3 separate regions of the Homo sapiens genome follow, and regions 1 and 3 are each linked to region 2. The links are contacts of gene promoters, found by promoter capture Hi-C in human tissues and cell types (Jung and others, 2019). All regions are on one chromosome and are shown on one strand. Each heading gives the region's core, a stretch centred on a gene start or on the middle of the fragment in contact. The rest is flanking DNA. Distances are from core to core; before and after follow the strand shown.

Region 1 (4,529 bases), core at 91-2,590, 450 kb after region 2:
TCCTCTCCCCTCACGACCAGTGAATAGCGCTTACTGCCCTGGGCAATGCTGTGCCAGCCACTGAGCACAGTGTTGCCTTAATTTGCATATGGAATACCGGCAGACTCGAACACCATTCACATATTTCCTGGCGATCTGAATTCCGTGTCTGTAAACTGCTTGTTCATCCCCCTTGCCCGTTGTTTCTTTGGGTTTCCTAACTTCACACTCACTCCTACGATAAACATAATTTTCTTCTTGGATTTGTACTTTTTGTATTTTACATTCATGTCTTTAATCCATTTATTTTATTTTACTTTTTTGAGATGGAGTCTCACTCATGTCACCCAGGCTGGAGTGCGGTGGTGTGGTCTCGGCTCACTGCAACATTCGCCTCCCAGGTTCAAGCGATTCTCATGCGTCAGTCTCCCAAGTAGCTGGGATTACAGGTGCCCGCCACCATGCCCAGCTCACTTTTGTACATTTAGTAGAGATGGTCAGGCTGGTCTCGAACTGCTGACCTCAGGTAATCCACCTGCCTCGGCCTCCCAAAGTGCTGGGATTACAGGTGTGAGCCACAGTGCCCGGGCCATTTGTTTTTATAAAATAGGGATTCAACATTTATTTCTTCCTGACGAATAACCAGTTGTGCCGACACCATTTATTAAATTTATTAAATAAGCTCTGTCAAATATTCCATATTTTCTAATCTATTCTACTGACTTTTTTGTCTATTCTCATGTAATATCATAATTTGATTATGGTATTAAAATATGTTAATCTTTTGCATATTTTCATATCATAAAATGTTATCTTTACACTTTTCTTGATAATTCCTGGACATTCTTTCATACAAACTTTAAGATTATTTTATTCAATTAAAAAAAACCCTGCTAAGATTTTCACTGGAGTTGCATTTTATTTAAATATTAACACTGGGAGAATTGGAACTTTCCAAATAACAAGTTTCCCACCCATAGTACATACTTCCAGCTTTTCAGACTTTGTTTTCTGTCTGCCACTGAGGATTATTTTATTTCATTTTTTTTTAGATGGAGTTTCACTTTGTCGCCCAGGCTGGAGGGCAATGGTGCGCTCTCGGCTCACTGCAAACTTCGCCTCCCGGATTCAAGCTATTCTCCTGCCTCAGCCTCCCCAGTAGCTGGGATTACAGGCGCCTGTCACCATGCCTGGTTAATTTTTTTTGTATTTTTAGTATAGATAGGGTTTCACTATGTTGGCCAGTTTGGTCTTGAACTCCTGACCTCAGGTGATCCGCCCACCTCGGCCTCCCAAAGTGCTGGGATTACAGGCGTGAGCCACTGCGCCTAGCCAGTTTTCTCCTTTTAAGTCCTGTGTGTCCAGAGAGGGGTGGGCACACTCACATTCAAATCAATGCTGCCATCCCCCTGGCTCCAGGGACCCCTGCAGTTTAAGCTTCTCCGGGAAGCCTCTGCTTTCAGGTTTCTTTTCTGGCCCAGTCCAGGTGAAAAGAGCTCGCACTAAGATCTCTGCTGGGAGTCAGACTCACCTGTCTACCAGCTTGGGCAGACGCTTGCCTTGAGTCCTGAGGCTAGGCCACAGCTGGAGCAGCAGATAGAAGGGACAGGGTTGCACTTATAACACCACTATCCTCCCAGCCCTGGTTTTATCATCATCATCGAGAAAAATACAATTAATCAGCAGTGATCAAAGGTAAGTCTAAACATTCCATTTAACTAACTTAAATGTGACCTGGTGTGCCGTGTCATTCTATAAATGACATAACAGAATAAGACTCACTTTCTAATTCACAGCCTCTGGTTCAATTTCAAGTAAGCAAATACATTTTGCTTTGGTTTTGCTTACAATATTCTGGGAAATGCAGGCTATAAATAATCACTCAACTGTTTTGTGGGTCAACAGAATCACTACTACTTTCAGTTTCGTTGATGCCATTTATATCATGAGCTCAAGCACACGGGCGCTTCAGAAGGCACTATAAAGTTTAGTTTTGATGTGGTGTGATGTTCTGATCTATCTTGAAAGGTAAAGAAACCCACAGGATTCAGCGTCAAGCCAATCCATGCCCAGGCACATCGCAGCTGCTAGGTCAGGAAATCTGTGCGTTTAGGAGGCTCTGAGGGTGATGCTGGGACTGTACTCAGGTAATTAAACCCGGACAAACCCTGAGGCACAGAGAGGATGAGTAGGGGCCCTGGAGGCAGCCTGACCCACAGGGAATTCTCGAGTGTGTGGCAGCCCTGCCTGGGGAACGAAGACCCGAGCCTCAATTTCCTCACAGGGGCACTCGCAGGGTTGCTGTGAGGATCACAGGGGTAATGTATGTGGCAGTTTGTCATACCCCAGGGCTCTGTAAGCGGCAGTTATTTATATTGTTACTTATGACACTGAACTAAGAGCTGACCCTGACGCCGCCTCCTCAGAAGCCCTAAGTCTTGAGTGGCCTGGACACCACTACACACGAGAGTCAGGGGCGGGGGCTTTGAGATGGACCACCAGGAAAGCCGGGAGAGGGACCGGGACAGGGCTCCCACTTGCTCCTGGCTCACAGGGGCCCTCATAGTCATCAGGTGGACCCCAACAGCTGTGGCCTGACAAAGATTCCCCCAAAGGCCAGCCCACCTTACACGCTACATCTGCCCCAACAGCCCCCCAGCCCAACAGGTGGTGCCTTCATGGAGATGCCCATCCCTGCACGTAGCACTCAAGGCAGTTCTCCCACCTGTAAAGCTGTTTTTCTTCCCCTACAATCCACACCCAACCTTTCTAGGTCAATCCTGAAACCCCACACAAGCTCCCCAACTACACCAGATCCTTCAACTCCAACACGCTCACCAAGTCTCTTCAATAGTCACTTCCATCTTTATAATTTACCATTTTCTTGAGCTGTTTGTATATTTCTCTAACCAGAAAGACAAGAAGTAGTAGTATTCAGATTTATAATGACTGGTTACTGGTACTGATTTGAGAGTTTCTTGTCAAGCGGATGAGTGTTTAAGGCCCACCACCTCTTTTCATATTCTTCTCTCTTAAAAACCACATTTTCAAAGGTCTGCAAACGTTTTCCACAGTCAACAACTTGAGAGGCATGGAAGTTTCTTGCTTATCAGGGGCCAAGGGGGAATTTTAGAATCTTTTGGGTAAATGAATGTTTAACATCCCCTGAAAGCTGCTGGAGAGTGGGGAACCTAGGACCGTCACAAAACAGCCAGCCTCTGCATTGCCTCTGCCGACCAGGGCTGCAGAGGGCAGCCACCCAGGGCTCAGCCACCGGCAGGAGTGGAGGAAGCACAGCTCCAAAGGTCACAGAATTGCAGTCCTGGAGCTGGGTCCCTGCCAACTCCCGGAGAGTGAGCGAGGGGCCACTGGGCTGTGAATGCACTGTCTCTGGCAGTGGATGATTTCCTCGTTCTTCTACGATAGAGACTCTAATGCCTCTCAGGCCCCTGATGGTCTACAGGCCGGGTGACGTAATCCCAATGAGGGTAAGAAAATTATTCCTGCTTTTCTCCAGGTTATAACTGGTGATTATGTAGGCTTGTCTGCTTTAATCTTCTTTTCTCAAAGTCTAGTAGAACACCTGCTTAACAACTTCCTGCCCACCCATCACTCAGACAAAAATGCAGCGTTCCAAGAACAATGGAGAGCCACCTCCGCAGCCAGACCTAGGGTTGGATCGCACGAAGAGCTGGAATTTGGGGAACCACTTAAGACTGGATACATTTGGAAGGAACAGTCACACAAGATAAAATAAATATTTAGCTAAGCTTTCAAATTCTGGAAATGTCAACTAATAAAACTAAAAGTCTACTACCTCTGAAAGTATAAATCCAAAAAACATTTAAAAGACTTTAATTTTAGCAAAGGGAAACCGAAAAGCCAAAGCAGCAGAATAACTTGTTTCTACATAATCTGTTTCCCCATGTACCTGCTACCATCCCCATCCTCTGCCCCACAAGCTTTTCAAGTGACGAACTCCTCACAGAGACGACAGGCAGTGCTTTCCATGATTCTTACCTTAACTATGCTGATAGGCTTTCGAGATAAGTGAAAACTTGCATACAGCAGAAATGTCAAAATAAAAATGAAGGCTCTGTACCTGAAACACAAAACAGTGGGAGAGGATGATATGAAATAACAGAAGTTATGTTAGGAATACATATCACTGTGTTCTGAAACGTTCTTATGCTGTGTATTATTCATTCAGTTCTACAGCCATTATCAATATTACTTATGTCACTATAATATTGGAACATTAAAAAATATTGCCACGTTTGCTTTGTCCAAATGGAAACTGAACACTGTAAGAGACAGGAAAAACCAGACTGCTTTTCCTACCCTCATGCACAACACACAACATACCATACTTCTAACACTACGTGTGTAGGGGTTTTCCCCATATACCAAGCAATTCTCCAGCTGACACTGGATGTCCTCTAAGTGAATTCAATTCTCACACTGTCTTCCAGGAGTCAGCATCAGCCCCCACAGGGCGGGGCTCCGGCCGAGGCTGCCCCGCTTCACATGCCAATGGCAACAAGCCCCAG
Region 2 (4,633 bases), core at 1,354-3,853:
GTGCTCTGGAAATGGAATAACACATTACTGAATATTTTAAACCCACTGTTGAGATCCACTGCTCAGAAAAAGATTTCTTTCAAAATATTACCGTTCACTGACAATGTACCTAGTCACCCAAGGGCTCTGATGGAGATGTACACAAGGAGATGAATGCTGTCTTCATGTCTGCTAACACCACATCCATTCTGCAGCTATGGATCCAAGGAGTAATCTTGACTTTCAAGTCTTAATTATTTAAGAAATACATTTTGTAAGGCTATAGCTGTGGTAGTGATTCCTCGCATGAATCTGGGCAAAGTAAACTGAAAACCTTCTGGAAAGAATCTGCCATTCTAGATGCCATTCATGATTCATGGAAGGAAGTCAAATAACATTAACAGGAGTTTGGAAGAAGTTGATTCTAACCCTTATGATGACTTGGAGGAGTTCAAGACTTCAGTGGAGGAAGGAACTGCAGATGTGGTGGAAATAATGAACAGTTGCTTCTTACGGATGAGCAAAGAAAGTGGTTTCTTGAAATGGAATTTATTCCTAGTGAAGACGCTGTGCACATTGTGGAAATGACAACAAAACATTTGGAATATCACATCAACTTAGTGGATAGCAGTGGCAGAGTTTGAGAATAGCCTCCAACTTTGAAAGAATTTTCACTGTGGTTAAAATGCTATCAAAACAGCATCACATGCTACAAAGAAGTCTTTCATGAAAGGAGGAGTCCATCAATGCAGTAAATTTCACTGTTGTCTTATTTTAAGTAACTGACACAGCCACCACCACCCTGATCAGTCAGCAGCCATCCACACTGAGGCCAGATTGTCAAAGTATAAAACAAGCAGGACTCACTAAAGGCTCAGATGATCATTAGTATTTTTAGCACTAAAATATTTTTTAATTAACGTAAGCACATTTTTATAGATATAATGCTTGCTATTGCACACTTTAAGTAGTATACTGTAATTACAACTTTCATATGCACTGAAAAACCTAAAACTGTTGCGTCACTTGCTTTACTGCAATACTTATTTTACTGCGGTGGTCTGGATTAGAACTCGAATTATCTGAGGTACGCCTGTGTACAAGGACAGGATTCACAAATCACTCTAAGTAAATTAAGCAGAGTGATGAAAGGCTCATTGGGGTCAGCCTGCCATCTTCCAAATTATGACTAAATGCAAGAGCATCACCAATAACTATACTGGCAGAGGTTCACATTTCACCTCGATTCTTCCTTATGTTTAGAGAAAGCCTATTTTTCAGTATGCCAGGAAAAATCATGAAAGTAGACCTAACTAAAGCTGGGGGTTTCTTTCATCCTGAAGAGGAACCACTTCCTAAGGAAAAATCATCTACTGTTTTAAAAAGCAAACTCTCGTAGAGTTGGAAGAGAACCCCACACACAGGTGGAACACCCCCCAGGGCTGCGGCCCCGCCGTGGCGCTCAGCCTGGCCTGCCCTGGGCCCGACCTCAGGACGCCGCCATTCCCGGACCCTCGGGCCTCCCGTCAGGAATCCGCCATCGGAACGGAGGCCCTAACTGGTCCCGTCGCAGAGCCACTGTCCAAATAAGGCATTTCGAGAGCCACGAGGATGACATAAAGCAGACTCCGCGTTTCTTCATTTTTCGTTAAGTGACACGATTTCCCTCACAAGGAAGGTGCAAACCCACAGGGCGCCCAGACCCTGCCCGGCACTTCCTGTCATCCATTACCACGACCCGTGTGACAGAAGCGGCTCTTCCCACCAATTCCCGGGACGCCGGAACCGCTTCCCCAGCACCCGGCCCCAAACACTGCCGTCAGCGAGCGGCCCTGGGCTGCTCCCGCGCCGGCGCCCGGCTGAGGGCCACGAGCCCCATCACGCCCACCGCCCCCAGGACCCCGACCCACCCGCTCGCCACGGCCGAGGCCGGGGCCGGGGTCGCGGCCGCCATCTTCCCGCCTGCGCCGCCGCGCGCCCCGCACCCTCCGAGCAGCCCCGCCGGCCCTGAGGACTCCGCGAGGCCGCGGACCCGACCGGCCCCACGCGCGCCGCCCGCCCCGGCCCCGCCCCGCCGCGCGCCCCCGACCCTCACGCCCGCCGCCCCGCCCGCGCCGGGCTCCGCGCGCCCCCGCCCCGCGCCGGGGCGCGCGCCGCACTCCGAAAGGGACGGTTAGGAGCGCGCGCTTCGATCAGGCCCAGCGCGGCGGCGGCGGCGCCTTCCAGAAATTTCCGCGTCCCTCAACCCACACTAAGAAACCAACTGGGCGCGCCCCCGCGCCGGTTGGGCTGAAGGCGCCCCCTCCCCCGCGGGTGCCCGCTCCCCTCCCCCACCCGCGCCCCCTCCCCGCCCCCTGCCCCGGGCGGCGGGTCAAATGCGGGCCCTCGAGGGCAGCGCCGGCCCTCCAGACCCGGGCGGCAGCGGCGGCGGCGGGCGGCGGCCGCGGGCCGGTGTGATTGATAGGGACGGCGGCGGCGAGAGCGGCGGCGGCGGCGGCGGAGCGGTTGAGTGACAGCTTACCTGGGTGCCAATCTTCATCACACTGACAAGCGGCTGCAGCAATCGGGACCCGCAGTGCCGCGCCCGCGTCCAACCGTCACGCCGACGCTGGGCCACGCGACACAGCCTCGCTCAATGGGAGGAGGGCGACGCCGACGCGCGCCGCATCAATATTCAGAGAGGGGGCGGGGCCTGCCGGAGACGGGCCCCGCCCCTCCCTGCGCGGCGGCGGGCGCGGGGCGGGGCCTGATCGCTGGGGGAGGAGAGCGAGGGCGGGAACCGGGCGGTGGCCGGCCCCGCCTCCAGCCCCGCCCGCACCCGGAGCTAGGCCGTGCCCCCAACCGGCCGCGCCCGAGCGCGAGGAGCTGTCTGCCCCGCCCCGAAGGCAGAGCCTCCCGCCTTATGACTATGCAGTAGGGGCGTGGCCTCAGCGCACGTCTTGCCCCCTCCGCGCCCTCGGTTGCCGCCCAGGAGAGGTGTGTGTAGCCGGGCGAAACCATTTGCCTCGAGCAGGCGGGGAGGGAGGGCTGTACCATCCGTAACCCCACCGCCGGGCGTCCCGTAGCCGAAGGCCTCCGTTCTGTGTGTGCCCGGTTTGAATGTAAGCCCGTGGGAGCCTCGCAGCCTTCCTCCCCAGGCTCTGGAGCCCGGGTGGGCCCGTCCTGGGCGGCACAGTGGATGCTCACGTGCCTCCCCCCCTGCGGCAGCGCGAGTGCTTAGCACCTGAGGCTTTACCCTGGGGGCTGTCTTCCCTCTGTGAGGACCCCAGCAAGGACTCATGATGTCCACAGGTGCTTAGGGGTGGCCTCTGGGCTACTTGGCCTCGCTTGACCACACCTTCCGGCCCAGGTGAGCCTTGCGGGTCTAGGTGACCAATGCGGCCTCCAGGTAAAGGGCACCTGCCTTAGGGGACGCCCACAAGTGTCTGCATTTCAAACTGCTTTGAAAGACCACCCTAACCGACCACTGCCACAATGTACCCACAAGTGCAGATGGTGGCTTTGGTCTCCAAGATGTAAGGAAAGGGCGACACATTCCCCACTGCGTAGGAAAGCACACGGTTTGCCTGACTGGCCTTCAATACTGCAGAAACATCCATTTATGCAGTGGCCCACCGAAGGCCATCAGTGCCTTGAGTCCATACACAGCGCGGGAAGGGCAGCTCTGTGGGCCCCCACTCCTCCCGGAAGGCAGACAGGCCCAGGACTGGAGCTGATTGCTAGAGGGAGCCTGGGGGTAGGTCTAGGCATGAACAGCTCGGAGGACATCCCTCCTGTGTCTTCAGAGCTCCACACCGCCAGGAGGTCTTGGCCAAGTGCTGTGCAGCTGCAGAGCCGCCTCTTTCAGAAAGATGGGAAGCAGCAGGGTGGGCAAGAGGGAGGCCCTGAGATACTTGCCCAAGGAGGGAAGTTCAAGGGGACAAAAAAAGCTCAGTATTCAAGACTGAGCATAATCTGCAGAGCCTAGTGCAAGATCCAGATGCAAGTGTCAATAGGTGTTGGAACAGAGAGACTCCACATGGGCTGGGTAAACTGAAGCTGAGACCTGCTGGGCCGCACCCCCCAGGAGTTAAGGCGTTCTTAGTAATCGGATGAGATAGGAGGTCGGAACAAGACACAGGTCACAAGGATCCTGCTGATAAAACAGGATGCAGTAAAGAAGCCGGCCAAATCCCACCAAAACCAAGATGGCGGGGAAAGTGACCTGTGGCCTTCCTCACTGCTGATTATACACTAATTATAATATATGAGCTTGGTAAAACACACTCTCGCCAGCGCCATGACAGTTTTCAAATGCCATGGCAACGTTTGGAAGATACCCTACATTGCCTAAAAGGGGTCGGGCGCAGTGGCTCACGCCAGTAATCCCAGCACTTTGGGGAGGCCAAGGCGGGCAGATTACTTGAGGTCAGGAGTTGAGACCAGCATGGCCAATATGGTGAAACCCCATCTCTACTAAAAATACCAAAAAATTAAGCAGGCGTGGTGGCATACACCTGTAGTCCCAGCTACTTGGGAGGCTGAGGCAGGAGAATCGCTTGAACCTGGGAAGCAAAGGTTGCAGTGAGCCGAGATCACGCCATTGCACTCCAGCCTGGGCAACGAGCAAGACTCCATCTCCAATAAATAAATAAATAAATGGAAGAGGAAGCCT
Region 3 (5,022 bases), core at 1-2,500, 320 kb after region 2:
AAGCGGGCTACGGTGGGAGAGGGCTGTACTTTCCATTTCACGGGGATCAAGCCGGGCACAGGGTGAGGGAGGCTTGTTGGCTTAAATCTACTGATTAAACTGGCCAAATGCACCTCTGGGAACAGGAAAGACTCAAGCCTGGCCGGCACCTGCTCTGTGCCTGGCTGGGGCATCTCTCCCTGGCCTCCTTCAGTGGAGTACTCCGTGGGCAGAAAGGTGAGAAGCAGCTGCAAGGGCTTCCTGAAACGCCCAGCTGAGGTTTGAGGGATTTCCTCACAATGGCTTTTCCCTGGGGACTTTAGGGGGAGCTCATGAGAGCCCCTTCCAAGCCGGCGCGCTCATTGTCCCTCCCTGCCCGTCAGAGGGGGCCACGAACAAAGGGGGTCTATTCTGAACCCCTCTCCCGTGTAACTCAAGTCCGCTAGGAACGCTGGACATTCGAGGGACTTCCTATCTCCGCACAGCAGGGGAGAGCCGGACCCGCTGCCCCCCAGGCTCTCCGCGGGGCCCCGGAGGTGCAGCGGCCCGAGTCCCCCTCTGCAGTCGGAGCTACTCACCTGCGGGGGAGCAGTGTCCCCGCCGGCGCCCCCCGCACCTGCCCCCGCGCGACAGGAAGCGGCGGCTGCTCGCCCCCTCCGCGGACCACGACCCCGGGGCTGCCCGGCGGGCCGATCCACCGGAAATTAAAGGCTTCATGTGCCAGCCCTTGAATGTAAAAACTCAGCCTAATCAGATTTTCAAAAAGAAAAGCTCTGCCTGTGAAACGGAAACACTAGCCCGCCCCCCCACCCCCCACCCCCCAGGGCGAGTCGCCCCTTTCCCCGGGGAGCCGGCGCGTGGGGACCCCCGCCCCCGACCAGAGCTGGCGGAGCGCACGGAGGCCGCAGCCTGGACCGGCAGACGCACGGACAGTCCCGCCCCGCCGCGCCCGGCCCCGGCGCTGTCACCCGGGGGGAGGAGGGGGTGTCTGGGTGGGGGAGGGGCTACCTTCTGAATGCGTCCATCGATGTCCAGGTAGATGGCCTTGGGCCGGTAGCTGGAGGAGCCGGATCCCATCCTGCGCCCGGCGGCTGCACTCGGACTTTTTACTGTACTTTCCCGACGCCAGCCGCCGCGGGAGGCGGGGGAGGGGAGCAGGGGAGGGGGCGGGCGGGGGGCGGCCCGCGGCGCTCAGCCAACCACAGCCGCGCCGCCACCGGGCCCGGGACGCCCGGGAGCCGCCGCCGCGCGCCGCAGGGTCTCCTCCGCTCGGCTCGCGCTCGGGCTCGGGCTCCGACTCCGGCTCGCGCGCTCCTCCTCCCGGCCGCCCGCCCGCCCCTCCCCCTCCCCCCTCCCCCCTCCCTCCCCCGTCTCTCCTCTCTCCCCTCCTCTTCACTCCCTGCACCTCCCTTCCCCCTCTTTCTTCTTCCCTTGACTCCAGCCCCCGGTCGGCTGCCTATCTCCCGATGCCCCCTGGACAGCTGTGCAGAGCCCTGAGCGACCCCTTCGGCCCGGAGCCGTCGCCTCCCCACGCAGCCCGTCCCTCCTAAGCCAGCGCTGGGCTGAGCGTGGCCGCGCCGCTGTGGACCCCCCAGCCCCGCCGGGAAAACTCCCCTCGCTCCTCTCTCCCTGCTGCGACCGCCACCCTCATTTCATTTGAATAGAAAACGGGAAAAGTTCCTTCTCGGTCACCCACAGCCTTCCCCTAACTAGGGGGCGTCAGCCTCCTCCAGCTGCGCCCGGAGCTGAAATGGCGATTTTATTTCTGTCCTGTATGGGGCCGGACCGAGGATTACCCCGCCACAAGCTATCTGCTGGATTCAGCAGTTTCGTCCCCTCCCCGCTTGTGTGAATTGCTACAGGGAGTGTGGGAAAGGCGGGAGGGGAAGGGGGCTGTGGGCATCCTCTGGATCTGCGGAGCAGGGAAGGGCTGCCTTGGCCGCCCCCAGTTCTCCTGGGCTCCTCCATTGGGAATGGGGTTGGCGGCTGGGGGAGGAGGCTCAGATGCCGTGGTCCTGGCCCTGGGTGCAGGTCGCCTTTGGAAGCAAGTGTCAAAGCCAGCCGGAGCATGTGCTATTGTTTCGTTGGAAGTGAGTTCCAAGCCACCGCTTTCCATCTGTTAAGTGTCTGGGTGCTGCTTATTGAGAGAGTCTGGTGCACCCAGGCTCCTCCCTCCCCTTCGGGCCTGCTGGAGCCGGCCAGCCAGTGCCAGGGCCAGTGGTCACTTCCTCTCCCTCCCCTGGCCAGCCTGGTCTCCACCTGGTGGACGGTCACAGGCTTTACAGACACCCCCAGGGCCATCTGGAGCTCTGGTGGCAGCTGGGGTCCTGGGGAAGGTGAGAGCTCCTTGCCTGTCCGTGGGGGTGGCATCATCCTGTGAGGTAAGTGATCGTCCTCAGCCTTTGGCCAGTCCATCCTGTGTCACTTTATGTCCCCCCACCTGCTCTCATGGCGGGGGGCACGCTCTCAAATAACAACGGCTTGGAACTCGGTACCTTGGCACCCCCTGCCCACAGCTCCAGTGGAGTCCGTGTCAGAGCTTTGGCACCATGAGTTGTGCTTTTCAAGTGACAGGATGAGAAGGGGACAGCCTGGAGGCCTTTGGGGTGGGGAGACCCAGCTGGGTGGTTACAGCGGGCCAGCTGACTCGCCATGGGGATACTGTGTCCCCGGCTCATTGAAGTGAGCACTATTACTAGTAGTTCAATTTGTTGTCAAATGTTCCGATGCTATTTGGGCTAATCCAGAGATCGTGCTGTTGGGACCGCCTGTGCTGCCTGGCATGGAGTTCTTACCAGCAGATGGCTCATTGGCTTGGCACTTAGTTATTCTCCATCCCTTATTGTCATCTGGCCTAGTCTTCTGTAACCATTTCCTCCAAGAGCCCCAGAAGGACGAGTGCCCGCCCATGGGGGGTGGTTCTGCAGGGCAGTTCCCCAGGAGGGTGGAGGGTGTGGCTCTGAGACTCTGTGTGCGTCCAGCACCAGTGCAGGCTGGCCCCTCACACTGCCTGGCTGATTCTGTGCTCAGGAGAATAATCGCATCTATAATTACTTTGCACTTTTAGGAGCTGGACTGGACCCCTGTGTAGATACTGGATCGATGAGGCCTCAGCAGCTGCCTAGAGAGGAACCCTTTCCTCTCCCAGATCCCCATGGAGCAGTGCGGTCTTCCATTCGTCAACAATCTCATTACTGCGTGTTGGGTGCTGTTCTGGGCACTGGGAATTCAGTAGTGAACAGAATAAGCAGAGATCCCTGGCCTGAAGAAGCTGGCATTCTCTGGGGAAGACAGACACGATGGTATAAATAAATAGAATGTGTAGGGTGTTGGATAAAAATTAAGGCAAAGAAGAAAAATCCATAGTGAGACCCCATCTCTAAAAAAGAAAAATCCTGCGGGGAAGGGGATATAGAATGTGCAGTGTGAGGGAATGTGCAGTGTGAGGGAGTTGGAATTTTAGAGAAAGTGGCCAGGCAAAAGGTCACATAGGAGGAGGGATCTTACAGGTGTTAGGAGCAAGGAGCCTGTGTGTGTCAGAGGGAAGGACGTTCTGGCACAGAAGCAGCCTTATGCAGGAGGCCACGTGGCCAGAGCGGAGGGAGGGAGTGGGCTGTGGGGGACCGTAGTGGGCTGTGAGGTCAGAGAGGTGACGGGGGCAACCCCGCGTGGTCACACGAGTGACTTGAGGTCACTCTTCCTCCACTGCATGCCTTGCAGGAGGCGGTGCAGAGGGCCATGGTCTGACGTGGGTTTTCACAGGATCCTCTTGGATGCTGGAGGAGGGTGCATGGAAGGGGCCAGGCAGGGAGGCCAGTGAGCAGCAGCTGCAGTCAGCTTTGCAAAGTGTGATGGGACTTGGACCACGGTCAGGTGGACCCATGAGTTGGGGTCCTTCAGAGAAGCAGACCAATAGTGAGGAGTTGGCTCACATGAGGACGGAGGCTGAGAAGTCCTGCCAGCTACCGCCTGCAAGCCGGAGCCCCGGGAAAGCTGGTGGTGTGGCTCCAGTGCAAGCCTGAGGGCAGCACCCGGGAGCTGATGGTGGGGACCCAGTCCCAGGGCAGGAGAAGGCCAGTGTCCCAGCCCAAGCAGGCAGGTGGGAGGAAAGAGGCAAGTTCCTCCTTCCTCTGCCTTCTTGTTCTCTTCAGCCCTTCAAGGGGTTGCATGATCCCATGCACACAGGGAGGCATCTGCTCGCCACAGTCCACCACTGCAAACGCTGGTCTCAGCCAGAGGCACCTCACAGACTCCCCCAGAAACAGCGCATCCCCAGCTATTGGGCATCCCGGGCTGGCCAGGTGGACACACAGACCTCACCAGTGCAGGTAGTGAGGAATGGTTGACTCCGCATCCAAGTTGGAGGTTGTGGGGTCTTCATTTGTGCCTATTTCCTAGGTGGGCATTATGCCTATTCTCTGCCTTCCTTCCCCTGGCTCTGCCTGCAGTCATGCTCGTTGGTCCTGAACAGCCTTGGTGGGGAAGGTTCCAGAAGTGGCGCCTGCTCTGTGCCCCCCACATCAGCCCCAGGGTCTCCTGGTATCCTAAACCTACATCCCTGCTCCTGGCCCGGCTGTCGGGAATGCAGCCAATGTTCGTTCCTCAGAATCAAGATAAAAACGAAGGGAACCTCCTGCCTCTGCCAGGCAGGCCGCAGGCCAGGCTGGGGACCCCGGGTGGGGTCGAGGCTGGGGAGCCTGGGTGGGGATGAGGCTGGGGACCCTGGGTAGGGTCGAGGCTGGCCACCCTGGGTGGGGTCGAGGCTGGGGACCCTGGGTGGGGACGAGGCTGGAGACCCTGGCTGGGGTCGAGGCTGGGGACCCTGGGTGGGGTTGAGGCTGGGGACCTTGGGTGGGGATGAGGCTGGGGACCCTTGGGGGGACGAGGCTGGGGACGCTGGCTGGGGTCGAATGCCTCCTCAGCTCAGGCCTTGGGTCTTTGGGGAACGTGGTGACTGAGTTCATATATGCATGAGCGACGTTTCCAACTGTCTGGAAACTTCAGACAGAGTGTGAGATTCTGCCCGTGTGTCACAGGGAAGGA

Evidence for each region. Contacts are between HindIII fragments. The study calls those that stand out against the background at their distance.
Region 1: a fragment that was not itself captured here is called in contact with the fragment with the promoter of PKNOX1 in region 2 in 1 of the 25 tissues and cell types used here (hippocampus).
Region 3: the fragment with the promoter of PDE9A here is called in contact with the fragment with the promoter of PKNOX1 in region 2 in 1 of the 25 tissues and cell types used here (spleen).

The regions. Positions count from the first base shown.
Region 1 is chr21:42,525,328-42,529,856 of GRCh38, reverse strand. It overlaps SLC37A1 (solute carrier family 37 member 1), which reads right to left. Exons shown (of 20, transcript NM_001320537.2): 3 at 4,000-4,081. It overlaps LOC107987299 (a long non-coding RNA gene), which reads left to right. Exons shown (of 2, transcript XR_007067878.1): 2 at 1,032-4,257. Among named protein-coding and RNA genes, the nearest start is that of SLC37A1, 14 kb to the right of the region's middle. The HindIII fragment of the contact is 7,112 bases long and covers 1-4,529 here.
Region 2 is chr21:42,972,532-42,977,164 of GRCh38, reverse strand. It overlaps PKNOX1 (PBX/knotted 1 homeobox 1), which reads right to left and starts at 2,603. Exons shown (of 11, transcript NM_004571.5): 1 at 2,501-2,603. RefSeq lists an enhancer at 1,078-1,804 and silencers at 1,766-1,965, 2,106-2,425, 2,556-2,945, 3,256-3,415. The HindIII fragment of the contact is 23,812 bases long and covers 1-4,633 here.
Region 3 is chr21:42,649,849-42,654,870 of GRCh38, reverse strand. PDE9A (phosphodiesterase 9A) reads right to left here and starts at 1,250. Exons shown (of 20, transcript NM_002606.3): 1 at 988-1,250. The coding sequence starts at 1,056. LOC101928255 (a long non-coding RNA gene) reads left to right here and starts at 1,213. Exons shown (of 3, transcript XR_244322.4): 1 at 1,213-3,281; 2 at 4,131-4,307; 3 at 4,428-5,022. RefSeq lists an enhancer at 1,565-2,286. The HindIII fragment of the contact is 36,096 bases long and covers 1-5,022 here.